Linked DNA regions of Homo sapiens: region 2 is linked to region 1. The links are contacts of gene promoters, found by promoter capture Hi-C in blood cells and fetal thymus (Javierre and others, 2016). All regions are on one chromosome and are shown on one strand. The core of a region is centred on a gene start or on the middle of the fragment in contact, and the rest is flanking DNA. Distances in the headings are between cores, read along the strand shown.

What was found. The method cuts DNA at HindIII sites, captures the fragments that hold promoters and counts their contacts. A CHiCAGO score of 5 or more calls a contact.
Region 2: a fragment that was not itself captured here is called in contact with the fragment with the promoter of GCOM1 in region 1 in 1 of 17 cell types (naive CD4 T cells); the score reaches 5.6 in naive CD4 T cells.

What each region holds. Positions count from the first base shown.
Region 1 is chr15:57,590,264-57,593,486 of GRCh38, forward strand. It overlaps GCOM1 (GCOM1, MYZAP-POLR2M combined locus), which reads left to right and starts at 1,641. Exons shown (of 17, transcript NR_104371.3): 1 at 1,641-1,846. MYZAP (myocardial zonula adherens protein) reads left to right here and starts at 1,641. Exons shown (of 13, transcript NM_001018100.5): 1 at 1,641-1,846. The coding sequence starts at 1,772. RefSeq lists a silencer at 1,530-1,639. The HindIII fragment of the contact is 3,808 bases long and covers 1-2,434 here.
Region 2 is chr15:57,720,006-57,723,228 of GRCh38, forward strand. No RefSeq gene overlaps it. Among named protein-coding and RNA genes, the nearest start is that of POLR2M, 15 kb to the left of the region's middle. The HindIII fragment of the contact is 1,002 bases long and covers 1,054-2,055 here.

The sequences.
Region 1 (3,223 bases), core at 391-2,890:
CATGAACAATTTTCTTTTTGGAAGGGATAGGTGGATGGGAGGATGCAGAGAGGAGTGTAGCAGAAAAGCAGAAGGACTTGGGTTAGAAGACTAGATGTGTAGTCTCAGCTGTTCACCAATTAACCTAATGTCTCTGGCCTCAGTTTCCTCATTTGCAAAACAGGGGCGATAACTGTAGCCCACCTTGTGGGGCATTGTGAGAATTGGTTGAGAAAATGCATATAAAGCACTTAGGACACAAGCACAGCTACTGTGAGGATGACGATGAGGATGGTGAAGAACAGGCTGTGCAACTTTGGGAAAGTCACTTGTATACACCGGCCTCAGTTTCCTCATCTACAAAAGGAGTGAGTTCCACAGGATCATCTGTAATTCTGTTTAGCAACATTTTTTTTTCAGCATCTTCCCTGTTGGTGCCATTGGGCATTCAGAGAGGGTCAAGGCCTGGCCTCTGCCCTCCAGAAGGACAGGGTACAGGCACACACATAGATAACTCTAACAGAAGACAGGGTCCCGCGGAGCTGCTAAGTTCCTGAGCATGCGTGTTTGGGGAAGGGGTTTCTGGAGAGCTCCGTGGGGAGGCAGTGCTTGACCTGGGCTTTGAAGACAGAGATTGTGTCTTTCCCTGCTGAAAAACACTTTGTCCTCAAGATAAAGGCCAAATTTCCAGCTAAGCACACAGGTTCCTCATGATGTCCTCAGCTCCCTTCCGCTGCTTCTCCACTGTTTTCCCACTGCACTGTGATACTTCCAATTCTTGAAACATATTTTATACCTTCCCTTGCTTTCCTTCCATCTTTGTGCATGCTAGTTCTTTTGACCTGGGACTCCCTCCTCCCTCTGTTAGGGGACAGCAGAGGGGACAAGCAAGGCACTAGGGTCGGACTGGGGGATTCATATCCTACCTTTGCCACTGAGAGGCCAGTGGGTCGCCTGCTGTGTTGCTCAATCCCTAGGTGAGTCAGCGTCTTCATCTGCAAAATGGGGATACAAGGTAACAACAGTGACTCCCTCAAAGGGCAATGGTGAGGATTAAATGAGGTAACACACGCAAAGTGCTCGCCAGGCAGGCCCACAGTAATCATTGAATAAATATGGGCAGTGTGGCCCACTCCTACTTGCATTTCAGGTCTTAGCTTAGTCATCACCTCCTCTGAGGTTGGCTGTGTGCTCCCTTAGTACATGGTATCTCCTCTTCTACCACAGCCCGGCACCTGTCATCCCCACCACACTGCAAACTCTCCGAGGCCAACAGCCAGTCGACTGGGTTGGCTGCTGGTGGGGACGCATAATAGGCATTCAGGAAATACTGAATGAATGACATGGGGTGAGGGTCCCAGTGATACGAGGGCGTGCAGAGGCTGTAGGGGGCAGTCCGGGGTGGGGGTAGGTCGTGAGACTGAATGGGCAGGTGGATCTCAACTCTGCGGGGGACAGAGAGAGCATGGGCGTCCAGGCTGTCCAGGGCTCCTTCTTGCCCTGGGACTGACCCTGGGAGGGCGCAGCGCCCTGGGAGAGGATGGTGCTCAACTTTAACCGGGTCGGCGCCCTCGGGAGAAAATGCAGCCTGACGGGTCGGGTGAGCGCGCTCGGCCCCGCCCCGGCCCGGCCCGGCCCCGCCCCCGGCCCCACCCCCGGGCCTTCGCGGTGCAGCTGAGGCTGCAAGTAGCCGGCGCCGTCCCGCGTCGCCCCCGCGCAGGGCGGGCCCCGCACGCTTATTCTGCCCGGGAGGAACGCCGGCGTCCAGCCCGCTACCGACCGCCGCTGCGGGATGCTGCGCTCCACGTCCACGGTCACCCTGCTCTCGGGCGGCGCCGCCAGGACGCCCGGGGCGCCCAGCAGGAGGGTGAGTAGCGGGGGCGGGAGCCGCCGCCGTCCCGTTCCCCCATCCCGGCCGCCCCCTCTAGAGGGGACTAGGGATGGGAAAGCTCGGGAGCCAGCACCTGGCCCCGACGCCCCACCCTGGGCTCAACTCCCCGGTCCTGTGCCGGCTCTGGCAGTGACCCTCCCGCTTGAGGTTTCAGGGGGCCCACCAGCTGGTAGGAGAGGGCTTAGGGGACTTTATGGAATTCCCAGAGATTTCCTCTCCTTCCTGCCTTTCTGTCAAGCCGAGTTTATTGGCGGCACCAGTTTAAAAATGAAGGAAGACATTTGTGCAGTGTCCCTACCTTGAGACTCAAAAGTAATGAATGTATTTAAAACTCAAACTTTCCTTCTTCCATTAATTAAAAGAAAGATGGGGTCACTTGTGTCCACTAGTGATAGGGTATCCACTAGTGATAGGGTAATTCTGGAGTGGGGTTAGCCAAGGTGGGCAAACCAGAACAGCAGCCGGCCGCCCAGGAGCCCGACTGTGTGGGACTCCGGTTTATGTAAACCACTTTCTTCTGTCTGATTTAAATATTAGCACAGTGACAACAATGGCAGCACTGAAAGCTTGGGACAGCATCTCCAGGGAAGGTTTCCCTTTGGAAGTGCTGTTTCTTTTTGATCTTTGTGGCATCTTTTCCCATCTCTCCAGATGCTCTGTAAAAGAAATGCTCCATCTTTCTAACACGGTCAGCACCTTAGAGCCACAGCCAGGGGCTTGGCTTGTGGCTTTTTAGTTCTTCCATTTATCATGATGTTCAATACTTATCATTTGGTACCTCTTTGCTCTGATTGAGACTTCTGTAATCGTGTTTCCTCAAGATTTAAACAGGTGGTTAAGTCCAAAGCAAAACCCCCACTGGTTCTGTCTGCGTGCAGGCTTGGACCTGCTTATTTGCTTTTACATGCCTTAAGCGAGTGATGGTGGTCACCTTATAAGCTGTCTTTCTTAGCTCTAGAAGAAAGGTGTGTTACTCTTGGGCATGGGCCAACTGATGGATTCTGGGGTGTGTGTGTGCGTGCACTCACCAGACACTTAGGTTGTGTACACAGGCGCACACACACACACACACACACACACACCCCAGAATCCATCAGTTGGCTCATGCCCAAGGTTGACAGAACTCCAGTTGTCCAATCATTAGCATCATAGAGTAAGATCTACATTGGGTCCAAGGGGGTTTCCAACCACAGTCCTGGCCTTACTCTAAGTTGGGTGTTTGTATTTTTCTATGGAAATCTTTCTCAATTTGAACACAATTGCAACTGAGAAAGAATGAAGTCACTGAAAAGCTAACCCTGAGCCCTGAGAGGATCATATGTGTGACCAGACTGCATGAATTGCATGAAATTC
Region 2 (3,223 bases), core at 305-2,804, 130 kb after region 1:
TCCCCAGAGTGTGATATTTCCCTTCCTGTGTCCATGTGATCTCATTGTTCAATTCCCACCTATGAGTGAGAATATGCGGTGTTTGGTTTTTTGTTCTTGCGATAGTTTACTGAGAATGATGGTTTCCAATTTCATCCATGTCCCTACAAAGGATATGAACTCATCATTTTTTATGGCTGCATAGTATTCCATGGTGTATATGTGCCACATTTTCTTAATCCAGTCTATCATTGTTGGACATTTGGGTTGGTTCCAAGTCTTTGCTATTGTGAATTCTTCATTTTCACAGGACCTGTCTCTAATCGACATCGCATTCTCTGGGGAGCCAGGCTGTGAGCTAATGTGGAAGGTAGTTTGTGGGATTATCTCCCTTTCCTATAACTGGGAGGTTGAGGTGATTTGTTCAAGGTCGCTCAGAGGCAGCCAAGAAAAGAACCCAGCACTCAAGATTCTAGGCCCTTGACTGCATGGCCTTGCAGGTGAATACCACAAATCAAGGCTGCGTTCAGGTGTTAACACGTGCTAACGCCAGACAAGAGCTCAGATGACTCTGGGGGTGTTTGTCAGGTCTCCATGACATTCTACAAGAGAGCTTTTTTCTTCTGATGATTTTTTTTATTTGCAGTGTTTCGTTTTTAATCATCTTACGGCTGTGTGATCATTTCAGTCACTGCTGGAATCTTCACTCCTCCCTCCTTACTTGATGGTCAGCTGCATAAAACTTTTCAGGAGAAGAGATATAAGGAAAAGTAAAGTGTCATGGGCTTTACTCAGAGGACCAGGTCAATCTGGCAGTTTAGCCTTCCCAGGCTTAATGACATAGTTCGTAACACTAAAAGTAAAGTTGTTAGGACAAAAATAATTCTGTCGTTGCACAAAAAAAGTTGGGAATGCCTGTGCCAAATAAAAGGATTATATATCCAGCTTTTATGGGGAGCATATAGTCATTTAAAAAATATGGCAAATCACATTATTGGCTAGCTGCTTGCTAAAGGGGGGTGGAGTGGAGGAGTTTCTTAAAGCTATTATTTTAATTTCTGGCTAAAGTGAGGAAGCTTTGATACTGGGCTGATGAAATAAACCTAGTGTGGGATAATACTGAACCAGAGCCAGACCACAAATCAGACGCGATTCTGAAAGTACAGCATAAAAGCCTGAACAATTAAATATGATCTATTACTTCCCAGATGGTTTTAGAAAACTTGGAATTTAAAAAAAGGCAAAAAAAAATTAAAAAAGAGGGTAAGCCACTGGAATAGCATTAGATTATTAGATTTAGGATTTAAATACCACTATTTCCTTTGAATCCAGTGGGAAGTTATGTACTCTCATGACTATTAAGTCTGTAAGATGAGGTCAGTGACCCCTTATCTAATGTATGAGGTATGTTTTAAGAGAACAAAATTTCAAAGTGTGGTCTTTATAGAGCATTTTGAGATCTAAAAGAGATTCTATATGAAAACCTTATTGTAACGATGGTAACAATTATGATTGAAGTAGTTTAGAAGGTACCTTTGGCCATATGAAGTAAAATGTTTCAAAATCACCACCATATGAAACTTTTAATTTAGTGTTAAAATTAACTGAGAACAATAGGGACTCCCTAAAAAAGCTATTTTGACAAGGGGAAATTAGGACATTGAGCTAAGGAGAGATCCAACTTCATATGGAAAAATTGCACATTATTAAGGCAAAAGAATGAGAGTTGTAAATCAAGTCCTTATTTTAGAGCATACAGAAATACTCCTTAAAAGAGGGAGACTCGGCTCAGTGCTTATAAATTTTGTCTGAAAATATTGCTAGTAAATATATCCTTTCTCCTAATCAGTACCACCTATATTTGTATTGAATTAAATAGCTTTTCTAGTGATTGTGTTGTAAAAGTGAAAGCCTATCTTCTGTCGATATTTAGATTTTTAATAAAAAAGATTTTTTTCTCCCCTTTAGTTACTCTTAGTGGGGGTAAAAACGAAGCACCATTAGAAACACCGTAACTGGCAACAGAAAACAAATCTTACATTGAATTAACATCTTCAGATTTTAGGGAGGGAAGGAAGCTTAGTTATTTGTTCCAAACCCTGTAAGTGAAGAAACCGAGGCACAGAGAAGCACGGAGACTTGCTGTGGTTGGGCAGCTGGTTCCGACACAGCCAATTTTTTTCTTTCCTAGTTCAGTGCTCTTTGATTAATATGGAGTCATCTGATAATTAATTAACACATGTTTACAAAATGACTGAAAAAGCGCAGTGCCAGAAATCTAGTTTCTAATTTTAAAACTTTAGATGTTTTTAAAGATAGTCATAACCATTGCAGCTGGGTCCGATACTACAATTTTCTTGAACATGGGTAATGTGCTGCCGATTATTTATAAGCATGACCCCATTTTCCTTTTCACTGCCTGACTTGGTCTGTTTTGAATGTGCCCATTTTCACACCTCTTCTTTTCCATCTTCAGCAGTTCCACTTCCATCAGCCTACAGAAACTTCTCACCTGTCCTTCTGAAACCTCTTAGTCTTTTATCAGCATCCAAGGGTAACAAGACTCTTGGGGTCTGAACAGTATAGCTGGCTAATTAGCATCAATCAACTCTTATCAATATCTCAGTGCATATCAGATTATTAGATGATTTTTTCCTGAAGGAAGGTAGGGCTTAAAGCAATGGTAAATGGAACGGGCAAGTTTTTTGCGGGGTGGAGGGTGGTAGGAGAGAAGAGAGAAAATGGAACATGAAAGAGGAGGAAAAGGATAGGAAGCAGCCTGGAGGGGCCCTGAACAGCCAAAGGGTAGCAAGAAAGCATAATTTGGAAGAGTTGTCTATCACACTGTCAGCTCCTCCCTTCCCATTTTCTCTCACATCCACTTAAATTTTAAGTATTTGCTCCAAACATTTTCCTGAAAAAGCTTTTGTCAAGGTCACCAGTGACCTTCATGCTGCTAAGTTCAATAATCAATTTCCAGTCGTTTTTCTTGAACCCTTAGCAGTTTTTGATATAGGTGATCTCCCCCTCTTTCATGAAACATTTTTTTTTTTTCCTGGTTTCTGGAATACCACTTCTGGGAGGTACAGGCATACTTCATTTTATTGTACTTCCCTTGATTGTGCTTCTCAGATAAGGCTTTTTTTTTTTAAAACCAATTGAAGGTTTGTGGCAACCCTGGGTTGAGCAAGTACATTGGCACCAGTTCTTCCAACAACATGCTCACTTCATGTATCTGTGTCAC